Linked DNA regions of Homo sapiens: all the other regions are linked to region 2. Evidence: promoter capture Hi-C in 16 types of primary human blood cells and fetal thymus (Javierre and others, 2016). All regions are on one chromosome and are shown on one strand. Each heading gives the region's core, a stretch centred on a gene start or on the middle of the fragment in contact. The rest is flanking DNA. Distances are from core to core; before and after follow the strand shown. Region 1 has its middle 7.2 kb from the start of DDX60. Region 2 holds the start of MSMO1 (methylsterol monooxygenase 1). Region 3 overlaps DDX60 (DExD/H-box helicase 60). Region 4 holds the start of LOC105377517 (a long non-coding RNA gene). Region 5 overlaps NAF1 (nuclear assembly factor 1 ribonucleoprotein). Region 6 overlaps DDX60 (DExD/H-box helicase 60).

Evidence for each region. Contacts are between HindIII fragments. The CHiCAGO score rates a contact against its expected background, and 5 or more counts as called.
Region 1: a contact is called between a fragment that was not itself captured here and the fragment with the promoter of MSMO1 in region 2, in 2 of 17 cell types (total CD4 T cells and activated CD4 T cells). The highest score is 8.2, in total CD4 T cells.
Region 3: a contact is called between a fragment that was not itself captured here and the fragment with the promoter of MSMO1 in region 2, in 2 of 17 cell types (total CD8 T cells and naive CD8 T cells). The highest score is 12.0, in total CD8 T cells.
Region 4: a fragment that was not itself captured here is called in contact with the fragment with the promoter of MSMO1 in region 2 in 10 of 17 cell types (non-activated CD4 T cells, total CD4 T cells, total CD8 T cells and 7 more); the score reaches 23.3 in non-activated CD4 T cells.
Region 5: a fragment that was not itself captured here is called in contact with the fragment with the promoter of MSMO1 in region 2 in 1 of 17 cell types (total B cells); the score reaches 6.3 in total B cells.
Region 6: a contact is called between a fragment that was not itself captured here and the fragment with the promoter of MSMO1 in region 2, in 1 of 17 cell types (erythroblasts). The highest score is 9.3, in erythroblasts.

What each region holds. Positions count from the first base shown.
Region 1 is chr4:168,324,592-168,327,291 of GRCh38, reverse strand. It overlaps a transcript of DDX60 not described here. Among named protein-coding and RNA genes, the nearest start is that of DDX60, 7.2 kb to the right of the region's middle. The HindIII fragment of the contact is 9,534 bases long and covers 1-2,700 here.
Region 2 is chr4:165,326,280-165,328,979 of GRCh38, reverse strand. MSMO1 (methylsterol monooxygenase 1) reads right to left here and starts at 1,311. Exons shown (of 6, transcript NM_006745.5): 1 at 1,216-1,311. RefSeq lists an enhancer at 1,013-1,282 and a silencer at 1,373-1,712. The HindIII fragment of the contact is 2,277 bases long and covers 479-2,700 here.
Region 3 is chr4:168,301,977-168,304,676 of GRCh38, reverse strand. It overlaps DDX60 (DExD/H-box helicase 60), which reads left to right. Exons shown (of 38, transcript NM_017631.6): 6 at 2,261-2,377. Among named protein-coding and RNA genes, the nearest start is that of DDX60, 15 kb to the left of the region's middle. The HindIII fragment of the contact is 2,001 bases long and covers 322-2,322 here.
Region 4 is chr4:163,169,828-163,172,527 of GRCh38, reverse strand. LOC105377517 (a long non-coding RNA gene) reads right to left here and starts at 252. Exons shown (of 3, transcript XR_939414.2): 1 at 170-252. The HindIII fragment of the contact is 3,131 bases long and covers 1-2,700 here.
Region 5 is chr4:163,153,275-163,155,974 of GRCh38, reverse strand. All of the region lies in intron 2 of NAF1 (nuclear assembly factor 1 ribonucleoprotein), which reads left to right. Among named protein-coding and RNA genes, the nearest start is that of NAF1, 12 kb to the left of the region's middle. The HindIII fragment of the contact is 1,597 bases long and covers 543-2,139 here.
Region 6 is chr4:168,256,799-168,259,498 of GRCh38, reverse strand. The region is part of intron 25 of DDX60 (DExD/H-box helicase 60); the gene reads left to right. Among named protein-coding and RNA genes, the nearest start is that of DDX60, 61 kb to the left of the region's middle. The HindIII fragment of the contact is 781 bases long and covers 875-1,655 here.

The DNA of each region.
Region 1 (2,700 bases), core at 74-2,573, 3.0 Mb before region 2:
TATTGCTTAATGCTTGTTTTGTGACCTGTTCACATCTGTTGATCCTCACCTCTATTCATCTTCAGTCCTTCAGTTTCACAGCTGCACTTGGATGTGCTCTGCTTCCAAAATCCCAAATCAAAATGTATGTCAATTATCTATTGCTGGGTAAGAAATTACTACAAAACATAGTGACTTTAAACACTTGATCTTAGCCAAAGGCCGAGAAGTGATATAGTGGCTTAAAAAAATATGTACATATGAACTTAGTATATTTTTACCCAGAGCACTAAAGGTGACCCTAATTGATTTTAAATCCCTGAAACAAGGTGTCCTATATTCCAGGCCATCTATTGTCTGTAGATTTGCAAATCTTTGGATTCATTTCTAAGTGTACCAGTTTCTTCACACTTTAAATGTTCACACTTTTAAATGTTCATGCTTTAGGCTGGGCGAGGTGGCTCATGCCTGTAATCCCAGCAATTTGGGAGGCCGAGGCAGGCGGATCACCTGAGGTCAGGGGTTCCAGACCAGCCTGGCCAACAGGGAGAAACCCAGTCTCTACTAAAAATACAAAAATTAGCCGGGTGTGATGGCGGGTGTCTGTAATTCCAGCTACTCGGGAGGCTAAGGCAGGAGAATCGCTTGAACCTGGGAGGCGGAGATTGCAGTGAGCCGAGATCGTACCACTGCATTACAGCCTGGGTGATAGAGTGAGACTCCGTCTCAAAATGAAATAAAATTAAAATAAAATAAAATAAAATATTCACGCTTTAAAATGTTCATATCCTTTGACCTATTCTACTTTACTCTGAGGACATGTATAAAATCATATTCATCCTGTTATTTATAATAACTAATAATTGGAAACAACATAAATCTCTTAATTTGTGGGATGGCTAAGGAAATAAATGAAATTTTTAAATGGTCATAGGGACCATTTAAAGTGATATAGCACAGTAAAAACTCATTACTGAATGCTAATGGAAAGAAGAAGAAATTATTTATTTGCATTTACACTATTAAGGCATTATTTAAAAATGTAAGCATCTTTTCTATGGCTGAAGGCTTTAATGTTTTAAATTGTGTTGAAATAAAGGATAACATATTGACTAGTTGAAACAGTTTGATTTTCTACATTATTTTATTTATTTTTCTCCACTAAAGGGAAAAGGGTAATCTACCGAAATAATTGAACATTTAAAATGGCTTTAAGACTTATTTGACATAATTAAAAATGCACAGTGTTTTGTTTCTCTTAAAGTTTACATTATACATGCCTCATAGAGATATTTGTCAAAAGGGATATCCAACTTGCAAGCAAAGAGGTCACCGCTGGACAGCTATGGACTGCTGTGGGACAATTTCAGAAGCTGCTTACCCAAGAAGTCTAATGTGGAAAGACGTGGCTGTCACTCCCTGGGAAAACAAATAGGAAAGAATATGACAAAGGAGGAAATCAGCTGTTGAACCAAAGAAGGATTTAAGTATTTAAGAAATGCCAACCACTGAAGACAGTTGCTCTGCAACTTAAAATCCTGAGGTCTGTTGTGTATCTGTTGGCCAAGCAGTTTGTTCACGACTATTTGGGGAAAGAATTTCTATGGAACTGGCATATTCTTAGACCCCAATGTTTCCTCTCACTGACCAGTCAACTGGTGTTGAAAAAGCCTGTGGCAGATATATCACAGATGGAGTGTACTCATTTTAATTTTATACGTGCATCTGTGGTTTTGTTTGAATGTATTCTTAAATGAGGAAATGTTTCCTTTGTTTCTGTAAATAAATTGTTATTGACATAATCACTTTTTCATAGATACACATATGAATTTATTAATACCATAGGTTTATTTCTGATTTATAAATTTAATACTGAAGTTATGACTACACAATTCAAACCTAAACAAAATTAATAGAGAATGAACTCTCTTTGTAAAAAATAAAAATTGTTGGCATCCTAATTTTAAGAAAGCATGCAATTATCTGGGCTTTGTAGAAACCTATTGTAGCTGGAGAAATAAGTAGCATTGAATTTTCTTACAAAGCCACATGTCAGGTAAAGCTCTTGAAACAATCACATTGGAGTCAGAGAAAAATCAAAACTAAAACAATATGGTAACAGTGGGTAACAGCCCTATTTGCCGTGTTCTTAAACCTTGAAAGAATGAATGGCTCCTCACAAACTTAATGCTGTGGGCCCCTTTAAGGCTCTCATACATAATGCTCAAAAAAAAGTTACTGATTCTATCCAACCAGAAATTTGTTTTTTAAAAAAATCTGCTATAATAGATTTCACTAACATTTTCTGTTCGGTGTGTATTTCACCAGCCTCTTGACTGCAGTTTGGCTTCACTTCTGAAGGGACATAATACGCCTCTACCAGGCCATCCGTGGATATACCTCAGCAGCCTTCTGTTGCACACAGTCTTTGCAGACAAGATCTTAACTGCTTCTACCCTTCTCCAGAAGCACAGGTACGATACATTGATGATATCCTCCTCTGCAGAGATTCATTTGGGATACTCATTCAAGACATGCAAATACTCATAAAGGAGCTTTAAAAAGGCGATGGACCATTGGTTCATGCATAAGTATAAGACCCTGCCACCTTGGTTAAATTCCTGAAAATTATTTGGCGAACTGAGGACTGCTCCATCTCTGATGCTGTCAAGATGAGCAGAGGAACATAACTGTCCCTTTCTAACATCTTTTAGTCCTTTT
Region 2 (2,700 bases), core at 62-2,561:
ACATGAACTCACTCAACAGGTCCAAAGGTTCAGTATGTGCTCCTCACAACCCCCGCCCAAATACTAGGCCTCCTTTAATGCCTAATTCTCAGACATAACGTTTTAAGTCTCTCCCATTCTGCTGCCTTAAGTCTTCAAACTCTTACCCAATTTAGAAACACTTGGTTTAGTTAACATTCAGGAATTTACTTTTCACAAAGGAGCGAGGGAATGGATATACTGTTGCTAACCGAACAAGGAATTAAAGAGGAGAGGGGAAACAAGGTCTTGGAAAATTGAATTTCCTTTTCCTTTACTCATTCTTGGGCAACCTAAATGACTGGAAGCCTGTTCTGGAACAGGTTGACTAGATAAATTTAGTTATTTGTGGATTCTCAGAAACCTTGAAGTTTAGCTGTCAGCCAGTCTCTGTCCTTTGGCACTTTAACACGGATTTCACCAGCTCCTTCATTTTCTGGACTTGCCCTGCCTCCAAGCTTGCCCTTCCTAAACCTTATTTCTAAGATGCAATGCCACGATCTATATAAATTTAAACATCAGAGATAACCTCCTTAAAACACTCAAAGTTCAAGGGAGTGCTTGCCCTAAGCATAAAGATCAAGCCCCGCTGTGATTGATGCACACGAGGCCCTTCCAGACTTCTTCACTCTTCATTTCTTACATTCTCGCCATCCTACACTTCACATTTTTGCAGTATCTGATCACTCATGGTTGCTACTGCTTCATTCCTCTCTGCCCACGGAAATATCGTTCCCTTACAGGTGATGTCCTCCCATTCAACTCCTAGTCATCCTTCAGTAACCTCCTCTCGGACGCCCTTCCCAACCCCACTACTCCCAAAGCACACTACATCTTACCTCCTTCTAGTGGTTCCTGCTTTTGTATAACTTTCGCCAGCCTATCACCCTGTGCTGCAACTATCTTCTACGTCCTGTCTCCCGAAGACAACACATTTTAAAGGGCAAGAAACATGCCCTAGCCTAGTTCCATCACTTAAGAATTTCACTCCGTTTTCATCCTTTCTAGCACGTACCTTAGCCTAGGCCCACCTTCACTCCAGTCTCCTTCCGCCCCGTCTCGGGTACCACTGCCAGCGTCCCGCCCAGCGCGTGCATCCGCACCCAGAACCCGCTCCCCTCGATCTCACGGAGCACCGGGTGGGAGCCCGCCTGCTCCCCCTTCCTCGCTCATGAGCCACTCCTCCAACCCCCTCACCTGAACGGCCGCGAGATGACTGCCGGCCACCGACACCGAGGACTCGCCAGGTGTTCCAACCTCGGAACCTGCCTCGCCTGGCTTGGGGGTGGAGCCGGGTGGGCCAGGCGGCCCGTCCTGTCGTTATTGGCCTGCGAGAGCTCCCGCCCCGCCTTCTCGGCGCGGTGATTGGTCTGTGCAGTTGCCGACATCGTGTGACTCGCGCGAACGAGCTCCTGGCGGTCCCAGCCATTGGCTCCGCGGATGGAGTGAGGATAGTGAGACCTGCAGAGCCAGCCAATGGTCGGCACCGCGGAGCGCCCGGAGGCGGGGAAGCGTGAGAGCGCGCCACGGCGTGAGGGGGCGGGCACAGACGGATGGCCGCCTCGCCCTGCAGCGCGGAGTCGCCTTGGCAACTGCGGTCCCGGCAGATTCCCAGTGAGAGCCTGCGCTGTGCGGGGGAGAGTGTCGCGCCGGCCGCCGTCCCAGGACTTTTATTTCAAATGTGACCTGTGTAGCAACCGCAGTTCCCAAACCCGGGAAGAAGAGAGTATAGATGAGTCTTAAAATCTATGTTGACTGTTTTGTGTTTCCAGACACCCTTGCCTTCCTTTTTCTGGTCTACCATTTAGATTTAGATCTTTCGTCTCCCTTGTTTCCCCAGCCTACGTATCCTTTAATAAATTCCTGCATTTTGAAAACGGAGAATTTCAAATGCGATTATCGTCATTTTGCAGATGAGAAATAAAGGCTGGGAAAGATTTAAAAAGATTGAACATCAAGGGAGAGTTCGGCTCCCAGGACCTTGACCTCGCTACATGGGCAGAGAACGCCCAGGTGTTGTTGCAATTGTTGTGCTGGACGATGAGTGCCCGGGGGCGGGGGCGGGGGCGGGGGCTTGACGCAGGTCTTTGCAGCTCTAAAGCTCAGTTTACACCATCTCTCAACATTAAAATATTGTGTACTGGGGTTTAATAATAAAACTGTACAGATGTGATAATATACTAAAACTTTCACTTAACGGAAGAGGTGCCTTTAAAGAAAAAACCGCACAGGGGCATCATTTGGGCTAGTGAAGGCCCTTTTTCCTCCTTCTTTATTAAGGTATAATTGACAAAAATTGTGTTTACGGCGTACACATGTTTTGATTATGTGTATATTGTGTCAAATATATACAGCTTCTGAAAACAGAATACTATTGTTTCATTCCTCCATGCTTTTGCTCAAACTGGCCCTTCTGCCTGGAATAATCAGCCATCTCCATGCCGCCCCATCAATTCAGGTACTATCTCCTTGAGGAAGTTCCCTCTTGAAAAGTGTCTTTTTTAGATTCAGTGTGACCTGTACTTATTCGTCTATCCCTCATGTTTGGCACACACATTCTTTGTAAAGTATCATGACAGCGGTCACGTCAAATGAAAAGAAATGGGATCTGTCCCTTGGTTGTCAGAGTCAGCCCTGTCTTTAGGATGCCTTTACAGTGGTGTCTGAAACCATGCCTATATA
Region 3 (2,700 bases), core at 73-2,572, 3.0 Mb before region 2:
CAGGCTGGAGTGCAGTGATGTGATCACAGCTCACTGCAGCTTCCACGTCTCGGGCTCAAGTGATCCTGCCGCCTCAGCCTGTCGAGTGGCTGGGATTACAGGTGCGCACCACCATGCCTAGCTAATTTTTGTATTTTTTGTAGAGACAAGGTTTTGCCATGTTGCCCAGGCTGGTCTCAAGCTCTGGGGCTCAACCAATCTGACTGCCTCAGCCTCCCAAAATGCTGAGATTACAAGTGTGAATCACTGTGCCTGGCCTTTCTTTCTTTTTATCATTATTCTGTCAGCTTTTTTTCTGTTAAAATATGTACTTTTTAAGCTTTTTTCTTAAAAGAAAAAAAGATGCAAACACACACATTAGCCTAGGCATACACAGGGTCAGGATCATCAACATCAACTGTCTTCCACCTCCAGATCTTGTCCCACTGGAAAGTCTTCAGGGGCAGTAACACACATGGAGCTGTCATCTTCTATGATAACAATGCCTTCTTCTGGAATAGCTCCTTAAGGGCCTCCTGAGGCTGTTTGGCAGCTGTTTTAAAAATACAAGTGAAAAGAGTATACTCTGAAATAATAATAAAAAATTCGCATAGTACAGTAAGTCATAAGTCAGTAGCAGTCATTTTTATCATGATCAAGTATTATATACTGTACATAATTGTATATGCTGTACTTTTTTTATTGTTGTTTTTTTGGAGACAGAGCCTTGCTCTGTTGCCCAGGCTGGAGTGCTGTGGTGCGATCTCAGCTCACCACAACCTCTGCCTCCTGGGTTTGAGCGATTCTCCTGCCTCAGCCTCCCAAGTAGCTGAGACTACAGGCATGCACCACCATGCTGGGCCAATTTTTGTGTTTTTAGTAGAGACGGGGTTTCACTATGTTGGCCAGTCTGGTCTCGAACTCCTGACCTCATGATCTGCCCGTCTTGGCCTCCCAAAGTGCTGGGATTACAGACGTGAGCCACCACGCCCAGCCTATGCTGTACTTTTATATGCCTGGCAGCACAGTAAGTGTGTTTACACCAGCCTCATGAACACTTGAGTAGTGCATTGCACTGTGGTGTTATGACATCACTATGACATCACTAGGCAGTAGAAATTTTTCAGCTCCATTATAATCTTATGGGATCACCAACATATAAGTGGTCTGTGGCTGAAAGAAACATTGTTATGTGGCTCTTGACTATTATTAAACTATTTTCAATTCTGGTTGCCTACTCTGAGCAGGAATAGCCCTGGGATTCATTTTTATATTGGAAGGAAGTACTGTTATTAATTTTCTCATTTTACTCTGTTAGAGCAATTTCTAAATCTGAGTTTTAACAGTACCTACACACTGTCGAATCTTTCCTTAAGAGTATTTTTTTTTTTTTTTGGAGACAGAGTCTCGCTCTGTCGCCCAGGCTGGAGTGCAGTGGTGTGATCTCAGCTCACTGCAAGCTCCGCCTCCCGGGTTCTCGCCATTCTCCTACCTCAGCCTCCTGAGCAGCTGGGACTACAGGCACCTGCCACCATGCCCGGCTAATTTTTTGCATTTTTAGTAGAGATGGGGTTTCACCGTGTTAGCCAGGATGGTCTCGATCTCCTGACCTCGTGATCTGCCTGCCTCTGCCTCCCAAAGTGCTAGGATTACAGGTGTGAGCCACCGAGCCCGGCTGAATAATTTTTTTAATGAAGGATTTTATTTTTGTTAAAATCTATTTCCTAATTTGTTGAATATTCACCTTAAAGAAGTTATGTTATTAGTCAATTTGAGGATTATGTGAAATACAATTGAAAATACAATGCATATTTAAAATGGCTGCTGCTGGGTGATAGGTACCTGAAAGGGGGGTTATGCTATCTTTCATTCATGTGTATGTTTGAAATTTGTTAAAATATATGGCATTAAATGGGGATGACGGTGTTTTGGAGGGTGCTGGAAGTGTTCTAAAATTAGATTGTGATATTGGTTCCAAAGTTGATAAATTTACTAACAGCCATTGAATTGTAACAAAATGAAGGAATTTTATGTTATGTTAATTATACTTTTATGAAGCTGTTAAAAAACAAAATACGCTATATTCCTAGGCAAAAATTAACTTTCAAAGACAAAATAGTGATGTTCAATGGGGTTTAAAACTTACAATTACATTGGCATATTTTTTTCCTTAGAAATATATCGTAACATAATTATATCTAAAATATGTAATTTTCTATAGTTGGAAAATAATTACATATTTTATTTATAACAACTTTTCTGATTTTTCTTTATTTTACAGAATAAGCAGAACATTAAAGATGCTTATACAACCCTGCTTAACCAGTTGGAAAGATTTAAGCTTTCAGCATTAGCACCTCTTTTTGGAAGTTTAAAATGGAATAATATTACGGAAGAGGTAACAAAACATTTTAAAAAGCTTTGTATTTGAACTAAGTTTTTAGTTATAGAAAAGTTGCAAAAATCATACAGAGTTCTCATGTACTTCTCATCCAGCTTCTCCTAATGTTAACATCTTAAATAACCACGGAACATTTATGAAAACCAGGAAATTAACATTGTGTCAATCCTATTAACTAAACTTTAGACCTTATTCCAATTACACTGACTTTTCCACTCATGTCTCTTTGCTATTTCAGGATCCAGTCCAGGATACCACATCCATTCAGTTGTCAGTCACACTTTTGAGTGTCCCCCAGTCTGTAACAGTTTCTCAGTCTT
Region 4 (2,700 bases), core at 86-2,585, 2.2 Mb after region 2:
CAAGCCTCTCCTTTGAGTCTTCAAGAGCAGCAACTTGCCCTGGTGGCTCCTTAATCAGCTGTCAAATGCCTGGGTTTTTGATAGTTGAGAGAATAAAAACTGAGGATGAGAAGCCTCGGAAATTAAAGTATAGAGTCCGCTCCTATACTCATCCTGCCGATAAATTTACCTTCAAATCCCGGATGGGTCCCCAAGTATAAAATGGCCTCATCGTCTGGGGTAAATACCAAGGTTCTTGGTCTCACAGCTGAGGAAATCAAGAACATGAACACATAACCACAGAGAGTGAGACTGGAGCAGGAGTTTATTCGGCAAAAGAAAAGAACAGCTCTCGGTCACGGAGAGGGGTCCCAAACAGGTTGCCAAGTTGTAGTAAAAAATGTCAGTTTTTTATAAATGGGCTAGTAAGGAGGGTGTGACTTATCTTCCTAGGGCCCGAACAAATGGTTAGGACCAGGTGTGCTATCTGCATAGAGCAGGGTCTCTATCAGCCCCCACCCCATTCTTTGATCATGTGGGTACACTCTTAGTTTATGCTGCTCTGTGCTGTTTGTGTGTGCTAAAAGGGAGGGAAGAGTGTCTGTGCCTATTCCCAGGCACCTTCTTGCAGCTGCAGGTATCTCACCTGTGCCTACTTCCAGCTTCCCTGTCTTAGTATGCCTAAAGAAAGAGAAAGAGATATGCTTATGAAGGCCCACTGTTTTTACTGGGACCCATTGTATGTATGTGAAGTTTGGTGATTACCCAGGAAACTCCCCACTCTGTGCCTTAGTTGCTTATATGTGTTTTACAGCCTGAGCGTCCAGGCTGCTCTTTGTTAGAAAGGAAGTGATTTCTTTGAACTGATTGAGGTTAAAAAGGGAGCTATTTCTGAGCTGCTTTTTGTTAGAAGGAAAGTTTTCTGCCTGGGACTCACCCTAACTCTCTACCTAAATAATTTCTATCTCCTATAACACAAAGATACTGGACCAAGTATGCTCAGTTCCTTTTCCCAAGATCACCAGTCAGATGTCACTCTCTTATCTGATAAGTCACTCTCTTACAAGCTGAGTGTGAGAGGAGACTAGGTGGCAAGAGATGCCTAGTCTCTAATCTATAATTTCTGTCCATACTCTCAAATGAGTCCAGTAGAGTTTCAGTCCATTTTGAGTTAAAATAGCACTTATACCTCTCTTTTCCCTACTACACTAGTTGGCAATGCAAACATATGACCTTGACTTAAATTAGTGCTACAATATATAAATAGGAATAGCAACTCACCCAAACAGTCACATAACCTGCTTTTAATCATTTTGTGATATATATTAGAAAATCTCATCATTTTTATCTAGCAAGTGCATTGTAGGTTTCTGGAAATGTAAATGTGTCTATTCATGTATTTTTAAACATTGAAATAGACTAAGATCAATCAGTGACATTTATAGAAATAATTTAAGTTTTACGTGCTCCCTTTGAAATGTAATATGCCATTTAAATTGTAATTTAATTCAAGGTAAATTCTCTCATAACGTTAATAGTGACCCTGTAAGCTACACAGTCTTCCAAGGTGTTTTTTTGGATTTAGTCTTAGGTTAAAGACTTCAGGCTAAGTTTAGCAACTGTTAGAAATAATGCGGTTGAGAGGAAGGCTGTGGAAGTAGGTAAATTCAGGACATTCTGAAACAAGCACTTAGAAAAATTACCATTTGTGAAACACTGACCTACTTCAAAGCTAGGCATAGGTACCACTATCATTATGTTGAAACACAGAAACATTTCCACCACACAAACAAAAGACTTTTATTTAAAAACAGTAGCCTTTCTTAGATATCATCAGATTAATTTAAATTGAAAGAATAACAGATATTATCTGTTAAGTCATATTCCTTACTCTGATTGTCCCATTGAGCTTTATTCTTTCTTTCTTTCATTCATCCATTCAAAAATCCTTATAGGATTTATTCTGTTTCCAGGCACTTAGAGAAACAGCTGTGAATTAGACAAAGATCCTGGGCACCTGAGACTTAATTTTATGAAAAAACAGACAATAAAGAAGTAAATAAATATAATTTCATGTGAAGATAAATACTATTTAAATAAAAACAGTGAGCTATAAGCTAGGAAGTGATTGGTATTGAGGGGTGCACTTAGATTGGGTGGTCTGGAAAGCTCTCTCTTAGGTGTAGTGTTTGAGTAGAACCATAAATGAGTAAAAAGGCCACGTTAATATGAAGAGAAGAGAGAACAGAAAAGTGAAAATGTCACACGTGAAGAATTAACTTGGTGAGTTGAAGGGAGATCAAGACCAGTGCTCATGTGAAACAAGGGTGGGGAAGACGGTAGGAGATAGAAACTGGAGAGGTAAGTAGTGGCCAGATCAGGTAGACTGTTGAAAGCCAAAGCAGGGAGTCTGAATTTTATTCTAAGTGTGCTTACAAATATTTAGAGTTTATAAATAATTAAGCAGGAAATTACAATGATCTTATTTATTATCCCCTGTGAAGGTCTCCTGTTTTCTCAGATTAACAAATTCATGGTTCTCTTTAAAAGTCCAGCTCAAGTATCACACGCATTGTAAAGCCTTTTGTCATTGTCAGTGAGGCAGTGGTTGGGTGGTCCTGTTTAACCAGCTTTCCTAGAGGTGACTTCTCCCATTCAGTTCTATTCAAGTCAAAGATGAGTCTTAGAGACTGTCTCATGCTTTAGTAGTTTATTCTGGCA
Region 5 (2,700 bases), core at 92-2,591, 2.2 Mb after region 2:
GAAGGTCTTTCTATCCCAGGCCTTTCCTATCACCTCTACCTTCAATTTTTTTAGTTTATTAGTATGCCTTTTACATCTAATTCTTTGTATCTTCTGTGCACTGCCAGAGTGGTAATGTCCCACAGTATGTTTTCTGGCCGTATTTTCCCCTTTATTGGAGTGTGTCTGTGTTTCTCTTCTCTGTCACACATATACACCCTTCCCTGAAACGTGGAAAAGCAAAGTGATTGATTTTTATTTCCTTAAAGGAGATTTTATATCTGAGGAGATTTATTCATTATCTTAGGAGGGGCAGCAGGTGTGTTTTCAGGGAGCCAAGTGTTAATCTAATAATTGTAATAATGTTTGCTACTGCAACCCAGAGGTACCTATGCATCAATCCTAGGCAGTTAAGCTTCCTTGGAAGCCTGGCTTTTAAATTTTATTTTTGAGAAGATTAGGTTCAAGTCTTTTTCATTCTTTGAGGATTCTATATCGGGTTATATTTTCATTATCTGATTTCTGCTCAGACAAAGACTGACTTTTGAGATTTTTGCTAAGCTTGGACTGAAGAGGTAGGTTAGTTCATCTAATAGATATATATTAATACTAAATACCTACTATGTGCTAGCCATCTTTTTGGGTGCTATAGCAATGAGCAAGACTGGGTCCTCGTTATGATTGGGACTAAAAAGGTCTTAGTTATGGTTGGATTTATTGTGTAGTTAGAGAAATAGACATTAAGTAAATACAGAAATATTGGACAACAATGTGTTTAGAAAAAAGCAAAGCAGCAGGATAGTTTGATAAAGAATGACTAGGCTTGGTAGTGATACAGTAGATTAAATTTGCTAGTTGAAAAAGAGATGGTGACATTTGGCATTCATACATCAAAACAAAAATCTTATATTACCTTGTCTGACATGGCTGCCAAAGGAAATCGCTTTTTGTACCTTTCAGAGATCTATCCCCTTTGAACCTTCTAAAGTTCTCTCTGAACCTGCCAAAAATTTTCATGGAAAGCACATCTCTTGGGTGCCTTCCTGTTGGCGTTTGAGTTATTTTTCCTCTTTGTTCTCCTCTCTCGCTCTGTTTTTTTTTTTTTGTTTTTGTTTTGTTTTCTGAGATGGAGTCTTTTGCTCTGTCGCCCAGGCTGGAGTGCAATGGTGCGATCTCTGCTCACTGCAACCTCCATCTCCCAGGTTCAAGTGATTCTCCTGCCTCAGCCTCCTGAGTAGCTGGGATTACAGGTGCCTGCCACCATGCCTGGCTAATTTTTGTATTTTTAGTAGAGATGGGATTTCATCATGTTGGCCAGGCTGGTCTCAGACTCCTGACCTCAGGATCCGCCTGCCTTGGCCTCCCAAAGTGCTGGGATTACAGGCATGAGCCACCATTCCTGGCCTGTCCTCCTCTCTTAGCATGCTCATTTAAAAGAAACAAATAGATCTGTTTTCCCTTAATTCAGACCTCCACATATGTGCCTTTTTCAAAATTAATATATACTGCTTCATTTAACTGTACTTTCAAAGGCAGACTCTATAACAGGATCTTAACCTGGAATTATACAAGGATGGTTTCACTTACCTCTTACATATTTTGTATATACTATTTAGTTTTTATATACCTTTTATGTTTTGTGGAGTATTTGGGGCGAGACTTCATGTGCATCACTTTTATAGGTAGAGTTGTTACTATCAAGAGGCAACTTAATGCCATCACTGGCCTTTTTTAGGAATGCACAGGAAACTGTACGTTCCTATATTACAGAGTACTAGTGTGTCCGGAATTGGTAGGTTCTTGGTCTCACTGACTTCAAGAATGAAGCCGCAGACCTTCGCGGTGAGTGTTACAGCTCTTAAGGTGGTGCGTCTGGAGTTTGTTCCTTCTGATGTTCAGATGTGTTCGGAGTTTCTTCCTTCTGGTGGGTTCGTGGTCTTGCTGGCTCAGGAGTGAAGCTGCAGACCTTCGCGGTGAGTGTTACAGCTCTTAAGGCGGCATGTCTGGAGTTGTTTGTTCCTCCCAGTGGGCTCGTGGTCTCGCTGGCTTCAGGAGTGAAGCTGCAGATCTTCGCGGTGAGTGTTATGGCTCATAAAAGCAGTGTGGACCCAAAGAGTGAGCAGTAGCAAGATTTATTGCAAAGAGCGAAAGAACAAAGCTTCCACGGTGTGGAAGGGGACCCGAGCGGGTTGCCAATGCTGGCTGGGGCAGCCTGCTTTTATTCTCTTATCTGGCCCCACCCACATCCTGCTGATTGGTAGAGCCGAGTGGCCTGTTTTGTCAGGGCGCTGATTGGTGGGTTTACAATCCCTGAGCTAGATACAAAGGTTCTCCATGTCCCCATCAGATTAGTTAGATACAGAGTTTTGACACACCAGTTCTCCAAGGCCCCACCAGAGCAGCTAGATACAGAGTGTCGATTGGTGCATTCACAAACCTTGAGCTAAACACAGGGTGCTGATTGGTGTGTTTACAAACCTTGAGCTAGATACAGAGTGCCGATTGGTGTATTTACAATCCCTGAGCTAGACATAAAGGTTCTCCAAGGCCCCACCAGAGCAGCTAGATACAGAGTGTCGATTGGTGCACTTACAAACCTTGAGCTAAACACAGGGTGCTGATTGGCGTGTTTACAATCCCAGAGCTAGATATAGAGACTCTCCACATCCCCACCAGACTCAGGAGCCCAGCTGGCTTCACCCAGTGGATCCCGCACTGCAC
Region 6 (2,700 bases), core at 16-2,515, 2.9 Mb before region 2:
AATAACGATGATGGGTGAATGTAAGATTGTGTTTGCAAATTTGGGGGATTGCAATAATATTACTCCTTTTATCTTTGTTGTTGGGATAAGGAAAATACATTTCTGCACTGCCAAGGATTTACAAAGCTCACCCATTTCACTTTCAAGTGTGGCTATAGACTGTAATTAGAAACAAAAGTAATTCTGTACCTCTGGGATATTTCTGAAAGCCTCACTGCAAAACAGAAACTGAAAAATATCTGTTTATTATTCATACCTTCATACAAATATAGGGGAGGCAAAATTTTACTTCTACCACCTTAGGCTTTTTTACCTGGGCCTCAGAATTAGACTGATATAAGACAAATCAATAGAAAAGCATGCACATGTATGTAGTATGTTTTATATGGTGCAGAAGGCTCCATAAGGAGTTGAAAACCCAACGATGCAGTTAGAGTTGGACACTTACATAGTGAATTGGACAAAGAGTGGTAAATTGTGAAAAATGTGACAAAGTAAAGGGGTGTAGGCTAGGGTAACTTGGGTGAAGATGTGACTAGGAAGGTAAGAGTTAGTTTAACAAGGTTTTTTAGTATAGATTTCCCTTGTCTTCAAGTTCCCATCTTTGAAGATAGGAGTGTTACTGTCCTTCGGGTATGAAAACATATTTTTGTGGGCATTTAATCTGCTACTTTTAAGAAAAAGAAAGAAGATCAGAGTGATCTTCTTGACCCTGCTGTTTTTTCTAGTGCTTTCAACTCAAAATAGTTAATATGCCAGAGTGGTATATTTTGGGAGTAGCATGTTCCAAAATCCTTCACATACTTAAAATATTTTAAAACTAAAATATTTCAGAAAACATCAAAAGTTTAATTATACTTGAAGAATTGAAGCTTGGCATGTTTATATGACTCTTGAATTCTCTACAAAATAAACTGTGAACATCCTTGGTATTACACAATTTGATCCCAGATCATCAAGAGATCTGAGGATTTTTCTGGGCTCAAGTTTTACCTCTAGGAGCTTTTCAAATAGTAGTGTACCCTTAAGCCTTTTGCAGTCTGATCTCTTAAAAAAAAAATACATGGAGCATATTCAGTGTTTGATGGCAATGGCAGTGTGTGCTTAAGGGCACACACTTCATGGCCAGACCCAAACTTGGATCCCACCTCTGCCCCCATGAATTGTGTTATTTCTGGACAGCTACTTAATGACTTTAAGCCTTAATTTACTTATTTGCAAAATGAGATGATCAGAATAATAGTACAAAGGATTGGAGTGAGAATTAAATAAACATAAGTTATGAAAGCACTTAGTACAGTGCTACAAAAATGTTATTGAATAAGGTCTAATCTCTAGGTCGCATTCATTCTTGTATACCAGGATGATCCCTTTTTGTCAGATCCAAACAGACTGGAGCTGAGAGAGCATGAAGGCGGGTTGTTCATGCTTGCATGGCTGAGATAAACTGTCTCAAGGACTTTCTAAAATAATCCCACAGGCAGTTCTTTATTTACTGCTGAAGCAATTCAGATAAGATGCCCTTGAAAGAACACCCACCCAGTAATGGCATCTCCACCGATAAATTGATGCCAGCTCTGGTTTTGCGTCTCCAAAACCAAAGAACTGTGTTTCTAAGCAGCTTATGTGAACTTCCCCTTTTGCCAGTACAAGCTTCCTTTTATCTTCCTCCCTTCAGATACATATGTGGCTTGCCATAGCTGTGCATCTTGGGTTATAATTCTCATTTCTAATTCCAAATATAGTCAACATATTTGGAGATATTTTTTCTTTGGTTTTGTTTTGGTTGACATAAAATGTAGGTTATCAGAGAGATTTAAGAGGCAACATTATTTCTAAGTGATCTTTGAACAAGAGTTTTTTAAAAATGAAGTGCTATGATGAAAGTGACACTATTTTAAAAAGTAATATATTCCTAGGCCCCAGTAACTTGCATTAATGTAAAAAGAGAAGCAACATATGTCAGTTAAAAACAGGATTTGAGAACAGGGGCCTGCAGGCCAGACTCTGCCACATATAAACTGTGGGCTCTTGGGCAGGTCACTGAATCTGGCAATAAGGATATTAATAGAAATATTAATATTAATAGTGCCTTCTTCATAGGATTGTTGTGAGTACTAAATGAGTTAACATACTGAAGTCACTGAGAATAATGCCTGACAACTGTGTATAATTTTTTTTTTTTGAAGGGCGATGGAGTTTTACTCTGTCGCCCAGGCTGGAGTTCAGTGGTGCAATCTCAGCTCACTGCAACCTCCACCTCCCAGGTTCAAGCAATTCTCCTGCCTCAGTCTCCCAAGCTGGGATTACAGGCATGTGCCACCACGCCCAGCTCATTTTTGAATTCTGTGTCACTGTGTTGTCCAGGCTGGTCTCGAACTCCTGACTTCAGGTGATCTGCCCACCTCGGCCTCCCAAAGTGCTGAGATTACAGGCATGAGCCACCATGCCCGGCCAACTGTGTATAACTTGAATTTTACTATTACCATTATTTTATTGTCTACTATATGAAATTTCTTGCCATGTGGCATAGACTCTCAGTTTTAAAATTCTTACTTCACCAGTGTGCCAGTTTATTTACTGTTTAGTAGCTAAACACATTTCCTTTTGATGTTAGCTCTATAAAAACTTTAGAAAGGCCCTTTGCTTCACAACATAGATTTAAAAAGCTTTATTATACAAACCAAATCTATGACTTGC